Linked DNA regions of Homo sapiens: region 1 is linked to region 2. The links are contacts of gene promoters, found by promoter capture Hi-C in human tissues and cell types (Jung and others, 2019). All regions are on one chromosome and are shown on one strand. Each heading gives the region's core, a stretch centred on a gene start or on the middle of the fragment in contact. The rest is flanking DNA. Distances are from core to core; before and after follow the strand shown. Region 1 overlaps FNDC3A (fibronectin type III domain containing 3A). Region 2 holds the start of MED4 (mediator complex subunit 4).

What was found. The method cuts DNA at HindIII sites, captures the fragments that hold promoters and counts their contacts. A contact is called where the count stands out against the background at its distance.
Region 1: a contact is called between a fragment that was not itself captured here and the fragment with the promoter of MED4 in region 2, in 2 of the 25 tissues and cell types used here (aorta and dorsolateral prefrontal cortex).

What each region holds. Positions count from the first base shown.
Region 1 is chr13:48,983,054-48,987,192 of GRCh38, reverse strand. All of the region lies in intron 1 of FNDC3A (fibronectin type III domain containing 3A), which reads right to left. Among named protein-coding and RNA genes, the nearest start is that of FNDC3A, 9.2 kb to the right of the region's middle. The HindIII fragment of the contact is 3,503 bases long and covers 1-3,432 here.
Region 2 is chr13:48,093,164-48,097,464 of GRCh38, reverse strand. It overlaps MED4 (mediator complex subunit 4), which reads left to right and starts at 2,361. Exons shown (of 7, transcript NM_014166.4): 1 at 2,361-2,511. The coding sequence starts at 2,387. RefSeq lists a silencer at 2,858-3,152. The HindIII fragment of the contact is 12,809 bases long and covers 1-4,301 here.

The sequences.
Region 1 (4,139 bases), core at 432-2,931, 890 kb before region 2:
CAACTACACCTGGGACAATCCTATTTTCACTTCCAAATATTTTACTGTCCTTTTTAGAAGTATTATATAAAACTTTAGTTTTTATATTATAGATTGTTAACTTTGCTCTTGTAGAACTTCAAATCCATTGGTGTGATTTTTGGACTGAAGATTAAACCTGTAGTTTCTGAATATTTTCTGGCCACAGTAATACATTGGTAACTAAATTCACAACAGAAAGTTTGAGTTCCTGTGTAAAAGCTACTGTATTACTATAACTTAACCATATTAACATGTTTCCTTCACTAATTCCTCCAAAATAATTTTATCATAATAAAATCAAGTAACATTTCTTTATTTCCTATAAGTAGATTTGTCTGCAGAATCCAGTAGTCCTTAAAGTAGTCCTTTCTGAGATGACCAGATTCTTTGTTTATAAATCTACAACTATGCCTTGGTTAAAGATTGCCTCTAATCATACTCATCTTCCTTCAACTTCTTTTTAAAAAAACCTTCCGGGCCAGGCGCAGTGGCTCACGCCTGTAATCCCAGCACTTTGGGAGACTGAGGTGGGCGGATCATGAGGTCATGAGTTTGAGACCAGTCTGACCAACATGGTGAAACCCCGTTTCCACTAAAAAATACAAAAAATTAGCCGGGTGTGGTGGCACGTGCTTCTGGTCCCAGCTACTCAGGAGGCTGAGGCAGGAGAATCTCTTGAACCTGGGAGGCGGAGGTTGCAGTGAGCCGAGATCACGCCATTGCACTCCAGCCTGGGCGACAGAGCAAGACTCCGCCTCAAAAAAAAAAAAAAAAAAAAAAAAAAAACAACTTCCTTCTCCTTACTCTGTCTTCCTCTTAAGCTTCTGATTCCTCTCTTGACCTCTATCATTAACTGTCTTGAAATATTAGGTTTTAATATTAAAGGGGAGGATCAAAATATCCAGACATATGGGACTTTAAAAAAACTACATTCGAAATTATAACTTTATATTTAAAAAAGCAAAGTGTTTTTATAACAGAAACTCTGAAAATAAAAAGCACTTTATTTTGTCTTGGTTGGCAGTTGTAGTTATAGAGGTTAAGAATCACTGGTAGAATTCTCACTTCTTTAACCCACTTTAACACAGTTTCAGATCCAACACTATACAGAAATTGCTATTTCTAAAAACACCAATGACTTCAGACACCAACTGGGAAGCTTCTGCAAGTGAAAGGAAGTGCTATTAAAAATTACGCAGGGAAAACCGACATAAATCAAAGCTGTCCACCCAGGAGGAATGGTCCTAATCAGGACCAATCATAACAAAGCCTTGCATGTGTTGTTATGTTTGTTATATCACAAAGGCTGTACTTGCTTATACTTGAAAATACACATACAAACATTGTTTTTAACTCTTTCCTGATCCCTAATCCAACTCCTATTTCTATAGCTAACAACTGTGGTGTACCCTTCCAGTCTTTTTCTCTGTGCTTACCTGTGTGTTAGGTTTTCTGGGATTGGTTGTTATGTAAGTGAAATCACATACACTGCTTTTGTGTATTGTATTTTTTTTGTGTGTGTATGAATTGTGTCTTTGTGTATGTATTATATTGTATCTCGCCCTTTCATGTAAAATATCTTAAGAAGTACATCTATGTCTATTTCATGTTTTTTCATAAGTATCTAATATTATAGTGTAAGGGCACACCATAATTTAACTGTTCTAATGATGATCTTATTACTTCCAGTTTCCCATCATACATTTTCTCCTCTGCATGGAATAATCATGCAATACTCTCTATTAATGAATGATAGCATTTCTATATTACAGACATATAGAAATAAAACTTCTGGCTCAGGAGAACGTACATTTGAAATGGATAGATACTGCCAAACTTTTCTCCTAAAAAGATGAAGCTATTTATATTCGGTTCAATAGTATTCCTTCAAAACTTAACAGGCTACCTATATTTCTACCTCTATAAATTTCCTGCTTACATTCTTTCCCATTTTCTATCAGGTTATCTTTTTCATATTGATTTGTAGGTACACCTTATATACCTTGAATATTAATTTTGTCTATTACATGTCGAATATTTTATCCCAGTCTATTGCTTGCCTTCCTTTTTAAATGGCATCTAAGTTTGATGTCTCACTTAAAAGGCCTTCTCTACTCCAACGAGTTTTTAAATTAACTTTTAAAAGTTTTGTCATTTTATTTTTTATTTATCAACATTTAGTCCACTCGGGGCTGGGCACAGTGGCTCACGCCTGTAATCACAGCACTCTGGGAGGCTGAGGCGAGCAGATCACAAGCTCAAGAGATCGAGACCATCTGGACAACATGGTGAAACCCCGTCTCTACTAAAAATACAAAAATTAGCTGGGCGTGGTGGTGGGCACCTGTAATCCCAGCTACTTGGGAGGCTGAGGCAGGAGAATCGCTTGAACCTGGGAGGCGGAGGTTGCAGTGAGCCGAGATCACGCCACTGCACTCCAGCCTGGTGACAGAGCGAGACTCCATCTCAAAAATAAATAAATAAATAAAAATAAAAAACCATTTAGTCCACCTGGAACTTAGTTTTGAGAGTGTCACGAAGTGGGTACCTAACTATCTTTACTTCAATTAAACAGTTGATTGTCCCACACCCTTTATAGACCAGTTCTTCCATTACTCATTCATTTATCATACAATTCTTCTTTATCCATGTTTATCTATGGATCTTCTCCTGAATTTATTATTCTATTCCTTTGATCAATATGCCTATTCCTACTCCAAATTCTTATTTTAATAATTGTAATTTTATAATGTTTCGACCTTTGATGGGTCCCATTTATTATACTTCTTTTTGAAATTTACTTGGCCATTCTTGTGCATGCTCCCTTCTCAAAACTTGAACCATCAGTTTGTCAAATTCCATTTTAAAACTCCTGTTGAATTTCTGATTAGAACTGCATTGACTTTATAGAATAATTTAGTAAAAGCTGTCATTTTTATGGCATTAAGTTGACACATTCATGAATACTCCTCCATCCATTCACATCTTTTTGCAGTTTTCTTCACATAGCTATTACACATTTTAAAATCTTAAGTATTTTATAGTTTAGGCTGCTACTTCTTATTACTGTATTTCATAGTTGGTTATTGTTGATATATAAGAAGGCTAATGAATTTTCTAACTTTATCTTATAGCCAATCAGCTTACTGAAATTTTTTAATACAAATCTTTTTCTGTTATCTCATATTTTTTTGCTATTTGTATTTGTATTATATTTATTTGTATTTGTAAGCAGTCATATCAACTCTAAATAATAGTGATACATTTCCCCCCTTTATTTACAGGTTAATTATTTTTCTTGTTCTTAATGTATTGCCTAAGACTTTTGAACCAATGTTGTGTTCCTATCTATTAATGAAAGTGCTTCTATTATTACTCTATGACATTTGGTGATAATAGTATCTACCGCAGAGAGATGTTTTAAGGCTTAAGTAAACTGATACATATAAAGTTTTTTGCAATAGCACCCAGAATACAGAAAGTGTTTAATGCCTATTAATCATATTATTTACTAAGTGCCTTTTATTTGTCAAGCACAAATAAAAGTATATGCATGCACCATTGCAGAGGTTGGCAAACTAAAGCCTGTGGGCCAAATCTGGTCTGCTGCCTAGTTTCGTAAATGAAGTTTAATAGGAACACAGTCATGCCCATTGTTTATAATTTATCTATGGCTGTTTTTGTGCTCCTGTAGCACAGTTTAAGTAGTTGCAACTGAGCCCATATGGTCCACAATGCCTAAAATATTTACTACCTTCTCTTATATTAAAAAAGTTGCTGACTCCAGTAGTACTGGTCAAACTCAAGGAGTTCATAGTTGAATAGCTGATTTAGACAAGTAAAAAATATATATACATTACAGTATGATATATACAACCCAGATATTCTGTGGGTATTATGGAAACATTTTGCATTTAAATATTAAAAGACAGGAAGGACTCACACAAGTGAAAAGACACAAGATATTTTAATTATTTAAAAATATGTATTTATTTACATATCATTATCTCTCATCCCATTCTGTAAATTTCTAAAGGGGAGGGAGTGTGACATTCATTTTTGTGACATTCAACATTCATATTCTAAGTATCTAGGACATTTTAAATGTTCAACAAATG
Region 2 (4,301 bases), core at 1,112-3,611:
ACAAGTTAATATTTTTGAAGTGCTTAGAACACTGCCCACCATGTCAATAAAATTTCATGAGAAAGTAGTGTCCTTTTTGAATCTACAGATTGAGAAAATATGTACCTAACTCCAAATTACCATGAATTCAGTAATACTATATAAAATAATTCATATTTGTTTATCACGCCTGGATTTGTACAATTTGCAAGACAGTATATCTGTGAAAGATGCTATTACTTATCAGTCTATAGAAACTGTTTAATATGCATATGAATTTGCAATAAATCTGAGGAGGTCAGGAGTTCACAATACACATACATGCTCCACACACTGATCCTCAGTGTCTGCAAAGTAGGACTATAATTGGTCATTTTTAACTAATTAGAATCCTTCTAGAATTTTTATGTTTACACTAATATAATGTTCTCTCTCCTCCTACCAGAGTCATGGCTCAATATGACCCGTGAGAGTTGAGTAAACAAAACCAACACATACCGCAGAAGTTTGGCACCCTGGAAACTTAACATAAGAAATGATTGACTAGAGTACTGAGAGGCATGTTTAGAATGCAAGTGTAATGAACAAAGCTTCAATCTACTTTAGCCCATTGCCTGAGAATTGACTGCATTAACAAAAAAGGGTTAGCCAACAGCAGATGCAGGGAACGGTCAGAAAACAAAAGGTGACAAGGATCTCTTGCACTGTCTAGAGGAAAAGGTACCCTGACCTATGAACACAAATAATCCAATCTCTTGAACACAAATATCCCTACACTGTGGAGACACAAAGCCTCATGATTGTGTCATTAATTTTTAATCTATCCTTGTTTGTTCTGATCCAAGTTTAACAAGCAACATCCTGTGATAATATGGCTTCTCATATAGTTTTGTCTATGGGAAAAAGATATGTTTGGCACTATTACTTTTCATCGTAAGTGAGTAAATCAGCATTCTAGATTACGCAGCAGTTGCTATGAGTGAATTTATTTAACATGAATTTCTAAAAGACTTGTCAACTCTGGGTGCCCAGGAGTCAGGTTTAGCACCTCCAAAAAGACAGAGTAGAGGATGAGACCCTGAAATGAAAGGACTACAGGTACTACTACCTCATGGGAGTGAGGCAGTCCCAGACCATCTTTTATAATAGCAATATGGAATCCTCATTCCCAATAGGCTTGTAACTTTGCTTTTTTCTGGTAGAGAGTGATCCCTACTACATTGTTATCCCTAGGAAAAGTAGGCTAAGACGTATTTTTGCCTTTGACAACCAGTTCTGGTTTGGAATGTGTGGTACATCAATGACTTAAACTATGTTAATTAACTACTACTTATGTACTGTATTGGTTCCTTCAGTTCAATAATTAACCTGAGTAATGAGCAAAACATTTTGTTGGAAGATGTATGGCTATAAAGATGGATTATAGCAATGTGGAAGTAACCTAACTGTCCATCGTCAGATGAATGGATGAACAAAAGGTGCCATATGCATACAATGGAATATTAGTCTTAAAAAGGAAAGATATTCCAGCACATGCTACATCATGGATGAACCTGGAGGACATAATGCTGAGTGACATAAGCCAGACACAAAAAGACAAATACTGTATGATTCTGCTTATATGAGGTACCTAGAGTAGCCAAACTTACAGCAATGGAAAGTAGAATGGTGGTTGCCAGGGCCTGGAGAAGGGAGGGATAAGGAGTTAGCATTTAGTGAGTACAGAGTTTGTTTTACAAGATAAAAGGTTTTGGAGATGGATAGTTGCTCAACAGTATGAATGTATTTAATGCCACTGAACTATCCACTTAAAAATGGTTAAGGTGGGCCGGGTGCGGTGGCTCACGCCTGTAATTCCACCACTTTGGGAGGCTGAGGCAGGCGGATCACGAGGTCAGGAGATTGAGACCATCCTGGCTAACAAGGTGAAACCCCGTCTCTACTAAAAATACAAAAAATTAGCCGGGCGTGGTGGCGGTCGCCTGTAGTCCCAGCTACTCGGGAGGCTGAGGCAGGAAAAATGGCGTGAACCCAGGAGGCGGAACTTGCAGTGAGCCAAGACATCCGCGGCGATGCACTCCAGTCTGGGCAACAGAGCGAGACTCGTCTCAAAAAAAAAAAAAGAAAGAAAGAAAGAAAAAAAACCATTAGGCCCAGGAGAATCAGACTGCGTTGCCCCCACTGTTCTCAGTTCAGCTGTCGCTCCCAGGGTTTGGACCAGAAAGCCCTCGCCGGCCCAACAGATGGCGCCGGTGTCCGCAGTGCGCCTCCAGGCCCAAAGGGGGCGCTCTCGCCAGGCCTCTTTTTCCTCTCCTGGGTGACTCTTCCGCCTTCCGAGCCCGCCTTCTCGCCACGCACCTGCGTCAGCTCGCTCTGCGCGTGCGCCGGTGGCGGGACTCTGGGGAAAATGGCTGCGTCTTCGAGTGGTGAGAAGGAGAAGGAGCGGCTGGGAGGCGGTTTGGGAGTGGCGGGTGGTAACAGCACACGAGAGCGGCTGCTGTCTGCGCTTGAGGACTTGGAGGTCCTGTCTAGGTAATGCGGCGAGCCTGAGAGCCGGGCTGGAGCTGGGCCGGGGGACTGACCCCGGAGCCGGCCGGCCCTGCGTTTGTGCTCGTTCTCGGGGTTCGGCGGGGAGGGCCAGCTCGGGAGTTTCGGGTGCATGAGGGTCATGGACGTGGGGTCCGCAGCCCTCTGGCACTCTGGGCGGCGGTTTTTCCCGTTAGAGGGAATTTTAGTAATGATAAGAACTCGCGCGGTCTGAGCCTCTTCGTCCGCGGCCAGCCACTTAACATTTATGGAACGCTCCTTGGGGGCTCAGCATTGGGGAGACGGTAGTGAAGGGTAGACTGGATGCCAGCTGTCGAGAGAGAGACAGATGTGTAAACTGGCTTGGGGCCTGTTTTTATTAGAGGGCTGCGCTGCGGGGTACTGGAGCACAGGGACTAGGCACCTTTTTTGGTTGTAGTCAGGGCAGGCCCTCTGAAGAAAGTGCTGCTTGGGAAGCATGAGCTCGCCAAACTCACTAGGCAGCACAGATAGATGGAACAGCAAGTGCAAAAAGCCTGGCTTGGTGGAGTTGCAAGTTGTTTAGGATGGTTGTGTGTCAGAGATAGGAGATGAAATTAGATGTCGTTCTTCATATTCTGTCACCTTTCATGATAAGTCTTTCAAGTTGAAGCCTTCCTTGACTCCCTCCCATTGACTTGGATGGTAAATTATCTTGGTTCTACCTCCTAAAGTGTCGCTCCAATTTGCCCTCTCGTTCCAACCCCGCTGTTCATAACTCCTTCTTAAATGTAGCCTCCCAAACAGTTTTAATTGCCTCATGCTTCTGCACTTTATCCTTTTATATTGGCCGATACCAGTTTTAAAAGGCATCTTATATCACTTTTCTGCAGAAAAATTATATAAAAGCTACCTCATTGGTAGGTTTGCGTTGTCCAGTGAGGTAAAGTTCAAATTCTTTAGTCAGACTTCCACATCTTCAGTGCCATTCCCAGTCTACTCCCGATTTGGTGAATGATTCATATATCCTTCAGAATCCAGCTCAAATGTCACTTTTTCTATAGCCAACATTCTTTGACAGCTTTAGAATAAATCTTACCTGTTGTATTTTAAAATATACGTGATATAATCAGCACTTTATTTTTGGTGTAAATTTAGTCCTTGCCATCGTATTGCTACCAAGTTACCAGGTCAGCACAATATTTAATGATGGAAGAAAACCCGAAAACACCTAGACAGCAGAAATTAAATGGCTTATGTGTTTGATCCACTGTTTAAAATAAACTGTATTAGGGCCGGGTGTGGTGGCTCACGCCTATAATCCGAGCACTTTGGGAGGCCAAGGCGGGCGGATCATTGGAACTTCTTCACAGAATGAAGCTGCTCTGGTGGTGTGACTGGCTTCCAGAAAGGTCTCATGTGTTCACTCAGAGGTAGTTATGTGTACTGATTCTGTGATCTGTGAAGTTTGTCAGTCTCTGAATGTAATTTGTGTCTGGCTTGCATTTATGAAAATGAGAAGAAAAATCACGAATATACCTTACATATTTTTAGATTTAGCCTCTTTAAAAATAGTGGATTTATAACTTAGGATCTTTTTTTTTCTATTAACCTGATTATATAGCCTTTCGGGATATTTATTAGTTTATAAAATGTAATGCAAGGAGATAGTCTTAAAAAGTTGAAACACAGGTTGTAGGCTAAACGTTTTTTTTAACCCATTTGTAACTCAAAACTCATTGTTCCACAGAACCATGTTGATAGGAATCTTGAGTTTTCCACACCAGCCTGTTAATTCTGTTTACCTGAAAAGTGTA